Regions from separate parts of the Homo sapiens genome. Here region 1 is linked to region 2. The links are contacts of gene promoters, found by promoter capture Hi-C in human tissues and cell types (Jung and others, 2019). All regions are on one chromosome and are shown on one strand. The core of a region is centred on a gene start or on the middle of the fragment in contact, and the rest is flanking DNA. Distances in the headings are between cores, read along the strand shown. Region 1 holds the start of LOC124901617 (a long non-coding RNA gene). Region 2 holds the start of EEPD1 (endonuclease/exonuclease/phosphatase family domain containing 1).

Region 1 (5,953 bases), core at 1,423-3,922, 88 kb after region 2:
GCAGGAACTTCGTGGAACTGTGAAATGAGCAGTGCAAAATAATTCATTGTGAAAATGAAGGAAGCAAGTATGTAGAAAACACACTCTAGATTTTTAAGGAACTGAATTTTGTTACTATTATGCAAATGAGGATCTGATACATGTATTATTATTTTTTACAGAACATTGCCAGAGATGGTATGCCTGGTCTTTGCCGTATAATGGTGAGTTCTAGCTGTTAGCTACTTCATAGTCATTACAGATCTCACACCAGTGAATGAGACAGTCATATCACTTGTTGGGATTCTCTGTTTTCTGCAAATAAAGGCAGTCTTCCTTACACAATCGCTGGGTCCCAGTTATTATAATGGCTTAGGAGAGTTATCAAAAAAAAAAAAAATGAAGGAACACAAGATAGCACTTGCAAAGAGAATCAAGAAAGCTATTGCCTTCCAGGCACTTGGCTGTTCTGAGGACAGAGCCCTGTGTAATGCTAGGTGTGCATGAGTCTATCTGCAGCGAGGGAAAGCGTCCCACACCATGATAACTCAAGAGACAGTGACTCTAGTAGGGCCATTCATGAAAACATACAGATACACTACTTTATTAGAAAATAAAGCCCCCAAATCCAGAATAACAAAACACAAAAGCAAAGAATCAACAGGAGCAACAAAAACTGGCCATAGCAGCAAGTTTCAATAGATGCCCCAAAGCAAAGCCAAGCCATTAATATGGCCTCCTTACCTCCTCTGTCTCCTTCTCTGATAATGCTCACAGCATGGGAAGCAGCTTGGGTTGGAAAGAGGACACATCAAATCTGTTTTCTCTCTTCTGGTGAATTTTCAGTCCTGACAAGATTCCCAGGACAGTACTTCCAGTGCTTAAAATGAGTGCAAGCTATTTGGAAGTATAACTCCGTCTCTACTGTTTTCGAAAAACAATGTTTTGATGGGAGGGGTTGTTTTTATTTTTGAGACAGAGTCTTGCTCTGTGACCCAAGCTGGAGTGCAGTGGTGCGATCTCGGCTCACTGCAACCTCCGCCTCCCGGGTTCAAGTGATTCTCCTGAGTTGTTGGGATTATAGTCGCATGCCACCACGCCCAACTAACTTTTGTATTTTTAGTAGAAATGGGATTTCGCCTTCTTGCCTAGGCTGGTCTTGAACTGCTGACCTCAGGTTATCTGCCCACCTCAAGCTCCCAAAGTGTTGGGATTACAGGCGTGAGCCACCACGCCCGGTGGAAAACCAATGTAACAAGAATTAAGTTTAGAAGCACACAAATACATGTCTGCACCCAAACACACACACACACGACAAAATTGAGCTAGAATAACTAGTCAGGCTGTGTTTGTTAGCAGACTGAAAAAAAAATACAAAGGAGAAAAAATGATTTTAATAGAGTTAAGATATTTCCTTATTACTTTGATTTCCAATGTATGGACTCATGAAAGTGGTCAAACTTCCACAATATTGCTGACATTTATATGAGAATTTTCAGGAGTTCTTTTACTTCAGTATAAATGTTGGCACTGTCAGGTTGTTCACTTGGAAGATCACAAAATGTCGTAGGAACATGCAGAGGTTCGCTCAGAAAATCAATTACAGCGTATCTGTAGTACAAACAGAAAGATGACCTTGGCATCTGCCAAAAAGGAAAAATAAATAAATAAATAAAAGGAAAGGCAATTTGCTTCCCACAAAAACCTTTGTACAGTGTGCCTCCGTGGCTTCCAAAAAGTAAAGCCCCAAACAAACAAACAAACAAAGTTTCTGCACAGGGACTAAAGAATGGTTTGCTATAGTGAGTGAGGGGAGGGAGTTGCCAAGTGAAAGTGCCATGCTTTGCAGTCATACTTAGCCAACTCAGAGCCACGGCAAGATGAGGAATCCCGAACAATGTTGACCTTCCAGTGGGAGAAAAATCAAGAGCTCAGCTCAGCTTGACAGGTGAAGTCGCCTGGGTTTCTGGGTGGGGTGGGGACTTGGAGAACTTTTCTGTCTAGCTAAAGGATTGTAAATGCACCAATCAGTGCTCTGTGTCTAGCTAAAGGTTTGTAAACGCACCAATCAGCACTCTGTAAAAACGGACCAATCAGCACTCTGTAAAATGGGCCAATCAGCTCTCTGTAAAATGGGCCAATCAGCTCTCTGTAAAATGGACCAATCAGCAGGATGTGGGTGGGGCCAAATAAGGGAATAAAAGCAGGCCACCTGAACGCCCTGGGACAGCTGTTTGGACTTTGTGAGTGTGTTGTTGTTTTGCTCTTTGCAATAAATCTTGTTGCTGGTCACTCTTTGGGTCTGCACTGCTTTTAGAAGCTGTAACACTCTCCAGGAAGGTCGCAGCTTCACTCCTGAAGCCAGTGAGACCATGAACCCACCAGAAGGAACGAACAACTCTGGACTTTTATGAGCTGTAACACTCACCGGGAAAGTCTGCAGCTTCACTCTTGAAGCCAGTGAGACCATGAACCCACCAGGAGAAAGGAATAACTCTGGAAGTGCCGCCTTCATGAGCTGTAACACTCACCAAGAAGGTCTCTGGCTTCTCCCCTGAAGCCAGCAAGACCACTAACCCACCAGGAAGAACAACTGTGGATGCTCCATCTGTGAGAGCTGTAGTACTCACGGCGAAGATCTGCAGCTTCACTTCTGAAGTCAGTGAGACCACACATCCACCAGAAGGAAGAATCTCCAAACACATCTGAACATGTAAGGAAACAAACTCAGACACACCATCTTTAAGAACCTTAACACTGACCGCAAGTGTTCACGGCTTCATTCTTGAAGTCAGCCAGACCAAGAACCCACGGGAAGGAACCAATTCTGGACACAAGCTTAGCTCAGCAGCTGCCCCAAAGGCATGGACCTGAGAAGTTCCTCCCCCCCATCAGGGCCAGTCATACCCACCTCAGACCAGTCCACTTCCACCTCAGGGAATCTGGGGGCCTTAGTCTGTTTCAGCTGCGTTAACAAAGTGCTTCAGGGGGGCGCTTTACAAATTGTCTGCTAGTTATGGAGATTAAAAGATCAATGTGTGGGCAGAATTTTTTCTTTTGAAATTTGGATCCTGGGTTGCAGATGGATGTTTTTTCCCTGTGAGCTTGCATGGTCACCCCCTGCATGTGTCTGCTTCTTGGCAGGATGTCAGAAGTGTTTGAACCAGAATAATTTCATCTTGCGTGGGGGCTGGGTAAAATAAGGCTGAGATCTACTGGGCTACGTTCCCAGGAGATTAGGCATTCTAAGTCTCAGGGTGAGACAGCAGGTCAGCACAAGATATAGGCCATGAAGACCTTGCTGATAAAACAGGTCATGGTAAAGAAGCTGGCCAAAACCCACTGAAACCAAGATGGCAATGAAAGTGACCCCTTGCCATCCTCGCTGCTCATTGTACGCTAATTATGATGCATTAGTATGCTAAAAAGACACTCCATCAGTGCCAGCACAGTTTACAGATGACATGGCAACGTCAGGAAGTTACCCTAAATGGTCTAAAAAGGGAGGAACCCTCAGTTCTGGGAATTACCCACCCCTTTTCCCAAAGATCTCATGAATAATCCATCCTTTTAGTATATAATCAAGAAATAACTATAAATATGGTCGACCAGTGGCCCTCGGGGCTGCTCTGCCTATGGAGTAGTCATTCTTTTGTTCCCTTACTTTCTTCATAAACTTGCTTTCACTTAATGGACTTAGAATTCTTTCTTACGCAAGATCCAAGAACCTTCTGTTAGGGTCTAGATCAGGACCCCTTTACCATAACAAGAACAGCTGTCTTAATGGACTAGGGCCCACCCTAATGACCTCATTTTAACTTATTTCATCTTTAAAGACTGCCTCCAAATAGTCGCATGCTGAGGTCATATGAATTTGGAAGGACACCATTAGCCCATCATGCTGGGGTAGTAGACTTGATTTTCTATCCCTTCCTACTGTTGTTTTCAACCATTGTTTTTAAAGCTATCCATATCATACTTGAAATTCAAATGCTATTCAGCATTCCGTCCCTGACCTGTCCCTGCTATTGCCTCTCCCCACACAAGACGAAAACAAGTTCAACTCTTTTCATTCTGGGGTTTAGCTCCTGTTCAGAAAACATGCTCCATGTTTTCACTTTAGTGTAGCTTCTACTGACTTTCTACTCTACAAAATAAGGATTTAATTCTCTTATACTTTCTTCACTCACTTTTACTCTTCCTCAATCTCCTGATAAAGTTACAGCACAATTTTAAAGCTTAGATCAAGATTCAACATGTGTGTTCTATATGATTGCAAATATTCTTCACAACTGGGTCTAGTAGAACAATAGAGTCATTTCTTGTACTTAGATTTTTTTTTCCTGGAATTAATCAGTGTTGTTTCGCTTTTTAAATAGGTGTTAATTGCAGGTGTCCTTCCTGGAGCCCTGCTTCCTGCTCCATCCACAGGGGTCGCTTTCCCACCTGCTGCGTGGGAAATCCTGGAGGAAGAGCGAGGGGGAGAGATGTGGCAAATGTTGACACACGAGGTTCCGTGCATGTGTGGGTTGGAGTTATCCCTCTTATCTTGCTATTTTTTGAGTTATTGATTAGCTAATGAGCCATGGCTCATGACTCCTTAATTCTCCAATTCTTTTTGTTGTTGTTGTTGTTTATTTTAATTCTCCAATTATTTAGCCTAGGGCAGAGTTATATACACTTTTTCTGTAAAGGTCCACATAGTATCTTTTAGATTTCCTCAGCCAGCTGTCTCTGTTGTAACAACTTAACTGTGCTGTTGTGGTGTGAAAACAACGCATGCCAATGATGAGCATATTTATGTTCCAATACAACTTTACTCACAAAACATACCTGTGGGCAAGATTTGGCCAGTATACCATCATTAGCTGATCCCTGGCCCATAAAAGGGTGCTTTTAAATTTTTCTATTGACATGATTCCATTGGCAGAGAAAAGTGGGTTTGTGCCCGCAGGGTCTCTAGCGGGTTACCTGGGGAAGCTTACTAGAAGCATAAGACAGCTTTGAAATCTCACGTATCCACAAATTTAGACAAAGTTTGACAAAGTTGAGTTGTTCTTCATAACTCAGTGCCCTGCTGATTAAGGAGGGTAGAGAGGGTTAAAGACAACTCAGATGAGGTTGGGGGTCTCTGGGAAGCTTTTTGCCCAGGACCCCTCTTCTTGTTTAGCTAGAGTACTTGGCTTGGCCATCCAGCAAATCAAAGGTCGTATTTTCAAGTTGCCATGGAATCTACGGCTGAAAGGAGACAAACATGGTAATCTATTTACTGACTTTCTTGCCACTGTTCCCTGTTTAGATTTTTCTTTGAGCCAATGACATCCTAAAAGGTAAAACAGCAATGAGGTTTAGACAGAACAAAGCCCTGTGGACCCACAGCAAAGCCTCACCCTTCAGAAAGATGATGCCCCTGCACTCTGGCCACCTTGAGGGCAACACGGAAATGGTCACAAGTAGAAAAAATTGTGTTTACAGCTGTGTGTTCTGTAGTCCTATGAGAGAGAGAAAACAGTGGGCCCAAATGGAGAAGAAAGGGCTGCCTCATCCCTGCACAGCCCTTGGTGTTGTTTCATTTTATCCTAAGACTCATCTCATTTCAACTCAGCAGGCTGGGGTTTGGGGCTGTGTTGTAACTAGGACTCTTTTGCTTCCAAACACAACAAGAGCTACTTGAACTCACAGGAATTAGCCATAATTTTTCAAATGACAAAAACTGAATGTCTTCCCTGAAAGAGAGAGCCGCAGCAGGAGCCAGCTTGCTGGAAGGAATTGACTGGAGTGTTTTCTTCATTCTGAATCCGCTTTCCCTGCCTGTCCCCAGCAGATGTGGGCCAGCCTTATGGAAAGACTCATTCTAGATGAGTGGGATTCTAAGAAGCAAGTACAAGCGGATTGCCACCCCATCGTCTTGTAAGGCAGCTGGCCTGGAAAATTCAGTCCCAAAAGGCAGCTGTGACACAGCTGTGAGGTTCTT
Region 2 (6,033 bases), core at 404-2,903:
CTGGTGCCGGATCCTGTCCAGGAAGGCGGCATTGATACCATCCATCCTCACTAGGTCCTCAACGCTGCGAAAGGGCCCATGCTCACGGCGGAAGTCCACGATGCTGAGGGCCATTTTCTCCGAGAGGCCTCGCACGCTCATGAGCTGGGCCGGGGTGGCTGTGTTGATGTTAACACGTGGGGTGAGGGGCACAGCTGTGGCCAGGTGGTGAGGCTGCTGCTCCGCTAGCAGGTCCCGCCGCAGGGAACTGGGAGAGTGCTGCGCTGAGCTGCCCTTGCTGCTCACACAGATCTCAAACTTGACCTGCTCCAGCTTGGTGGCGCCTACACCACTGACCAATGCCAGGTCCTCCACCTTCTTGAAGCCACCGATATACTCTCGGTACTCCACGATGCTGCGTGCCACGGCACGCGTCACCCCAGGCAGGGTCATCAGCTCCTCCTCCGTGGCAGTGTTGATGTTGAGCCGCTCCTGATTCACTAGAATGTTGCTGAAGTTACAGGCTGCGCTGAACTTGCGGCTATGGGACAGGTCCGAGGGGTCCCTGGGGATGGAGCGGTGGCAGCCCAGGGTGCTCCCCATGGTCCGCCAGGATCAGGCTCCCGGGAAGGCCGCACCACTGCAGAAGAGCTCTCTGGCTAGGGAGGAAGCCCAGTAGGCCGTACAAGCACAGAAAAACGGAAGGTGCAGGATTCAGGGACTGAAGAGGTTACTATAGACAAACACCGAATCTTCCATGCCTGGCGTGTCCAAAATTACCTTTCACTTGGCCGCCTAGAAAATAAATCAATAAACATAGAAACCCATTGAATTAAGAAATTTGCATTAGCACCCCCTACCTAGTGCTAGAGTTAGTAACCAGGAGTCGGGGACTGGTGGCTGCCCGTGAACCCCTAAAAACGCAGGCACAATGAGGCTAGGCCCATGTGGATTCTCCTCTAGGGACGTCCGGGTTTTATCACACTGGAGTCCAAAAAGGCTACGAGCCGCTTCTCTTGGGAAGAGACCTATCCCCATCAGCCTCATGCCTCTCCTCCAGGCCTCTCTCAACTCTGACACTTGGGTCACCCACACTTGGGCTCGCGCAGACGGGGTGGCCACTCCACCTCCCCCACGCTCCGCATCTGACACAGCGCTACCTGCAACCTGGGAAGTCCGTGCTCCCCGGAGCGGGCACTGAGAAGGGGCTTATCGACCCCCCACCCGACCTGCCGCGGGTCCCCGCGCCCCACCTCTCGGCCGCTCTGCGGGGCGCCGGTTCCTCTTCCACCTGCGGCTCGGAAGCCTGAGCCCAGCCCGGGACAGCACGGGCCCCCTGCCTCCAGCCTAGGCGTCCGCGCGGGTGTGGGTCACTGGTCAGGCCCTGGAAGCCGACTACGCCGCTTCGGTCTGCGTGTCCCGGCTCTTTCTATGGGAGAAACTTAGCATCGCTCTCCCAGAGTGAATAGAAGCCGCAGGGCTGCTCGGAGGCGGCGGCAGCGGCGGCGAAACCCGCCGCCGAGGCTGCACCGGGGCTTGCGGCGGCGCCGCCGCAGTTGCGTTTACCCCGGCAAAAAGTCCTGCGCCCAACTCGGGCGGGGATCCGCCAGAGCCAGTCCAGACCCAGCACCAGCCGCACGGCTCCCGCTCGCAGTCGGTGTCAAAGCCAAAGTCCCGGCCGCGCCGCGCCGCGCCGCTCGCGCCTCCGCAGGCACCGCGGCCACGCCTCCTCCGCGCGGCAACTCCTCCCCGGGACTCCCGAGGGCACGTGGGGGAGGGGCCCTGGCGCGGGGCGAGGCCTGGCACCAGTGGGTGGAGAGAGGAACCCGAGAGCGCAAGGGCGGGCCTGGAGTGGGAGAGGCGGGGCCATGGAAGAGGGGGCGGCATCAAGGCTCAAGAGGGTGGAGAACGAACCAGAGAGCGCGAGGGGAGGCCCTGGCGTGCGAGAGGAGGAGCCATGGGTGTGGGGGCGTGGCCTGGCACAAATGGGTGGAGAGCAGAACCCTGGAGCGCGTGGGGCGGGCCTGGAGTGCGAGAGGCGGGGTCATAGAGTGTGGGAGCGGGGCCAGGGCGCGATGGGGTAGGAAAAGCGGGGGCGGGGCCATGAGCGCGGGGGTAGGCCCCGGGAGCGCAGAGGCGGGACTTAGGGGGCTTAAGGGGCGGAGCCGGCGCCGTGCCGGCGAGGGCGGGTCACAGGGAGGCTGTCCTAAGTCAGCTGCCCCCGGACCATGGTTGCCGCCCGGGGCCTAGGACTGGTTGTGCCTGGTAGAGGCTGTTTAGGATTGCCCGAGGCGAGATCTGCTCAGCTGCTTTTCGTCTGTCTTTGAGGTGTGGGGATGAAGGCCGGGGCAGTCCCTGAGAGTGCATCGCTGTAGGTCCAGGGTCTCACGGAATTTTGCAGAACGTTCCAGAGGAGACTGAATGGGATCGTCTTAATTTCTGTCCCCACTTTCGGCCTTTTCTTTTCTTCCACCAGTGTATTACCTTTGCTCCGCTCAGAGAGATGTCCTCTAATAACGCCAGCGACGCATTGTGCTCCTAGCAGAGGGCACGCACCACCCTCCTGTGTGTTCGCATAGGTCAAATACAGGTTTGCTCCTTTGCACATTTAGCGCTGTGAGTAAACAAGGATAAGTTTTTGTAATATTAAGTCTAATCATTACGAAGGAGGGAAATGGGGGCTGCTTCCCAAAACCCAGAAGAGTTTTTGCATCACACTGCTAAATGACAATTTGGTTAAAGATTAAAGAGCCCTCTGCATTATAGTGGATACCTAGAGCTAGAGTATTCGATTAAGCAAATCATGCGGTGATATCGTTGAATACTTTGACCCTGGACGTTTAGTGTTCTCTGAAGTTTCATCCCCAACCAATGTGACCAGTGCATCTGGTTTCAATTCCAAGGACTGGGTCAGCAAAAATAGTACCTCTCACAGGCGGAAGGTACTTTGGTTGTAAAATTAGCGGCAGCCCAAGTTTGGAAAATGCTACTGCCTTTCTGAGGCACATTCCCCTGCTATGTATATTGGTCAGAAAACCAAGTCAAACTAGCTTAGACCAAAAAAAAAAAAAAAAAGGTCGGGGGGAAATTTTTGGTTCCTTGTTGAAAAGTTAAGGTAAGGAATCTTACCTCAAGTCTGGTTGCATCCGACCCAAGTGATGATGGGGTCATTAGGACATGGCAGGACTGCCTCCATCTCTGGCTCCACGGTTCTCTTTATTGGCTTTATTTTTAGGCAAGCTATTTGCACTTGATCGCAAAAATGCCTTGCTACCTACCATCATCTCCCACCCAAACACTGGGCTACATTATGCCACGCACTGAAATCCTGGTGCGGTAAGGAAAAAACAGTTTAAGACAAGCAGGAAAACAGAGAAAACTCTTCGTTGAGCAGAATGCCTTGATGCGCAACGTGGCTGTGGAAGCACAGCCGTGGAGCGTGGCTACTTGGGCTGGAAGCAGAGAAAACATATTTTATCATACAAACCAGGACACTCTGGAGGTGAAGAGAGGACTCTATTAATAATATCCTAGAACAACAGAAATAATCTGGTTTTATTCCCCATAAACCTAGCAAATGCTCCCCTTGGTATAAATGAAACCAAGCGTTGGCCAAACCAAAGTGCATTTAAAAACACACATACATACACCCCACAAAAACATGCAATGAGATGGTTAACTTTAAAACGACTGATTGTATCCAATGTTGGTGAGGACGCAGAGCAATTGAAATGGTCATACATTGCTGGTGGAGGTGTAAGATGGCACCACTACTTTGGAAATCAGTTTGGAAGTTTCCTAAGAAGTTAAACGTATACTTACCATATGACTCAACCAATCTACTTATAGGTATTTACCAAAGAAAAAGGAAAACATGAAACCCAGAGACTTGAATGTGGATGTTCATAGGAGCTTTGTTTGTTATAGCCAAACACACACACACACACACACCCACACACACACACACACACACACACACACACAAAGCAAAACAACAAGAAACTCAAATCCATCAGTGGATGAATGAATAAATTGTAGTATATCCATACAATGGAATGCTACTGAGCAATAAAGACAAACTATTACATGACATTGAAAAGTCTCAAAATCGTTATACTGAGTGAAAGAAGCAAGGCAAAAAAGAACATACTGTATGATTCTATTTATATAAAACACCAGAAAATACAAACTGACATACATATAGAGAAAGCAGATCAGTGGTTACCTGGGGATGATGGGGAGGGAGGAATGGATTTTAAAGGGCACAAAGAAACTTTGGGGGCTGATGGCAATGTAGTTTGAGAGGTGATAGTTTCATGGGCATATGAATGTCAAAACTGACAGAATCGTATACTTTAAATATGTGCATTTGGGTGTACTTCAGTGACAACAGCTTTGGAAAAATCTTCAAAAAATGAAAAAAAATTTTCTCTGAATCTAAAAAAACATAGGCCTTGTTTTTGGGGAGAGTGGGGTACGTGAGCCTGGGTGGAGATGAAAAGGTTTAGGAGGGGGATGAAGGGGTCCAAGAAGTTGAACAGACAGCTAATAGAAGAGAACATTCCCCAGCTTGGCTTGGGGGCTCAGGAAAGTGGGCGACAGAGGCCTTTAAACTTACGGCTAACAGTCTATTTTATCTGCTGTGCTATTTCATGATGCAATCCTCCCACCCCTACCCCATGCACAGACACTAAATTTTGTAAGATATGTATGTAATGGCCATCAATAAGTTATGTTTAGGAGAGATAAAGTAAGGGAGCTGAATCTTTCTGGGTAAATTAAAGACAGAGAGAAAAAGGGCAGCTAAAATATGAAAGATGGGTGGGAGAAAGAGCCAGGATTCAGTGGAAGCAGAAAATCAGAATACGAGGAGACCCAGGGAAATACCTGACTTTCAAGAATCCTCATTGAGATTGGGAAGTTGGCTCGGGTCCCATTTTACAAGGAATGAGGGTTTTATTTGCATTTTATTATTTAGGGCTCTAGCTGACAACCCAGTTACATGACGATGTCAAAGGGCAGAAATTATATCATTCCAGCCAAATACCACATCCTGTGGCCACTGCCCCTTACGACATAGTTCTCACCTGGGGCCTGGTCAGAGAGGACCAAGGTCATTGGCCTTTTGCTTCTTAGTTAGCAGTTTTAAAGTAAATGGCGATTTAGGGAAAGGGAGAGGTGGCAGATGACAAGAAGGGAGAGCATTTGTGTTTTCAGTTTTACCACCCATAGTGCTAGGCACTGGAAGTACAGTGAGGAGCACACTCCTGACTTCTATTCCCGGAGCTGATGGTGCAGCAGGACTGCAGACATGAAATCAGTAAGACTAGTGCCTGTTGAAATAAGGGAGAGGAAGAGAATATGGATGTGAATTACAAGTAATTTCTGCTAGGGGACTTCCCGGGAAGTGAGGGTCAAGATGAGATTTGAAAGCTGAATAGGGAAATGTTGCCCCAACACACAAGACCTCAGTCCTGGCAAAGCAAGCCCCAATGCCCCAATCAATGAGCTTCAGTCAGGCTATTGACTTGGCACCAACTTGTGTGCAGTGGCCAAGCTGGATGCTGTCCTGAATTATATCAGTGTGACAAGGCAACGTCTCCTTTAGTGTGACCTTAACAGTGGATTTGTCCCTCTTTATCAGAGTAGGCTCCCTGTGTTCCCAAACTCAGGAAACTCCAGGCATTGGCAGCCCACTTGCGCATTCTACATCAGATCCTGCCTCACTGGGAGTTGTGGCAGAGGATGGCCAGACAGACACCATGGACAGACACCATGGAGAGGGGCAATGAACAAAGCTTCATCTTCTACACACAGGTATGTAATTCTGCTTTCTCTTCTGTGCCTGTATATAGACACTCAGCCGGTAATCCCACCACCAGGAGCATTTTCGTATATTACTCTAAAGGATTCCAGTGCTCTGCTGCATAACAGTGTGTGATAGACTGTACATGGGTGCCCAGTGGGTCCAGCCTCCCCTCATTCTCCTCCCTGTGTGACCTCTTTCTACATTCACTCCAGGCTTAGCCATGTGATTTGTGAGAGTAAGGCAAG

Evidence for each region. The method cuts DNA at HindIII sites, captures the fragments that hold promoters and counts their contacts. A contact is called where the count stands out against the background at its distance.
Region 1: a fragment that was not itself captured here is called in contact with the fragment with the promoter of EEPD1 in region 2 in 2 of the 25 tissues and cell types used here (neural progenitor cells and stomach).

Annotation. Positions count from the first base shown.
Region 1 is chr7:36,062,085-36,068,037 of GRCh38, reverse strand. It overlaps LOC124901617 (a long non-coding RNA gene), which reads right to left and starts at 1,925. Exons shown (of 2, transcript XR_007060289.1): 1 at 1,835-1,925; 2 at 1,352-1,622. RefSeq lists an enhancer at 1,610-2,809. The HindIII fragment of the contact is 4,735 bases long and covers 305-5,039 here.
Region 2 is chr7:36,148,874-36,154,906 of GRCh38, reverse strand. EEPD1 (endonuclease/exonuclease/phosphatase family domain containing 1) reads right to left here and starts at 1,653. Exons shown (of 8, transcript NM_030636.3): 1 at 1,233-1,653; 2 at 1-774. The coding sequence starts at 582. RefSeq lists a silencer at 1,522-2,241. The HindIII fragment of the contact is 14,356 bases long and covers 1-6,033 here.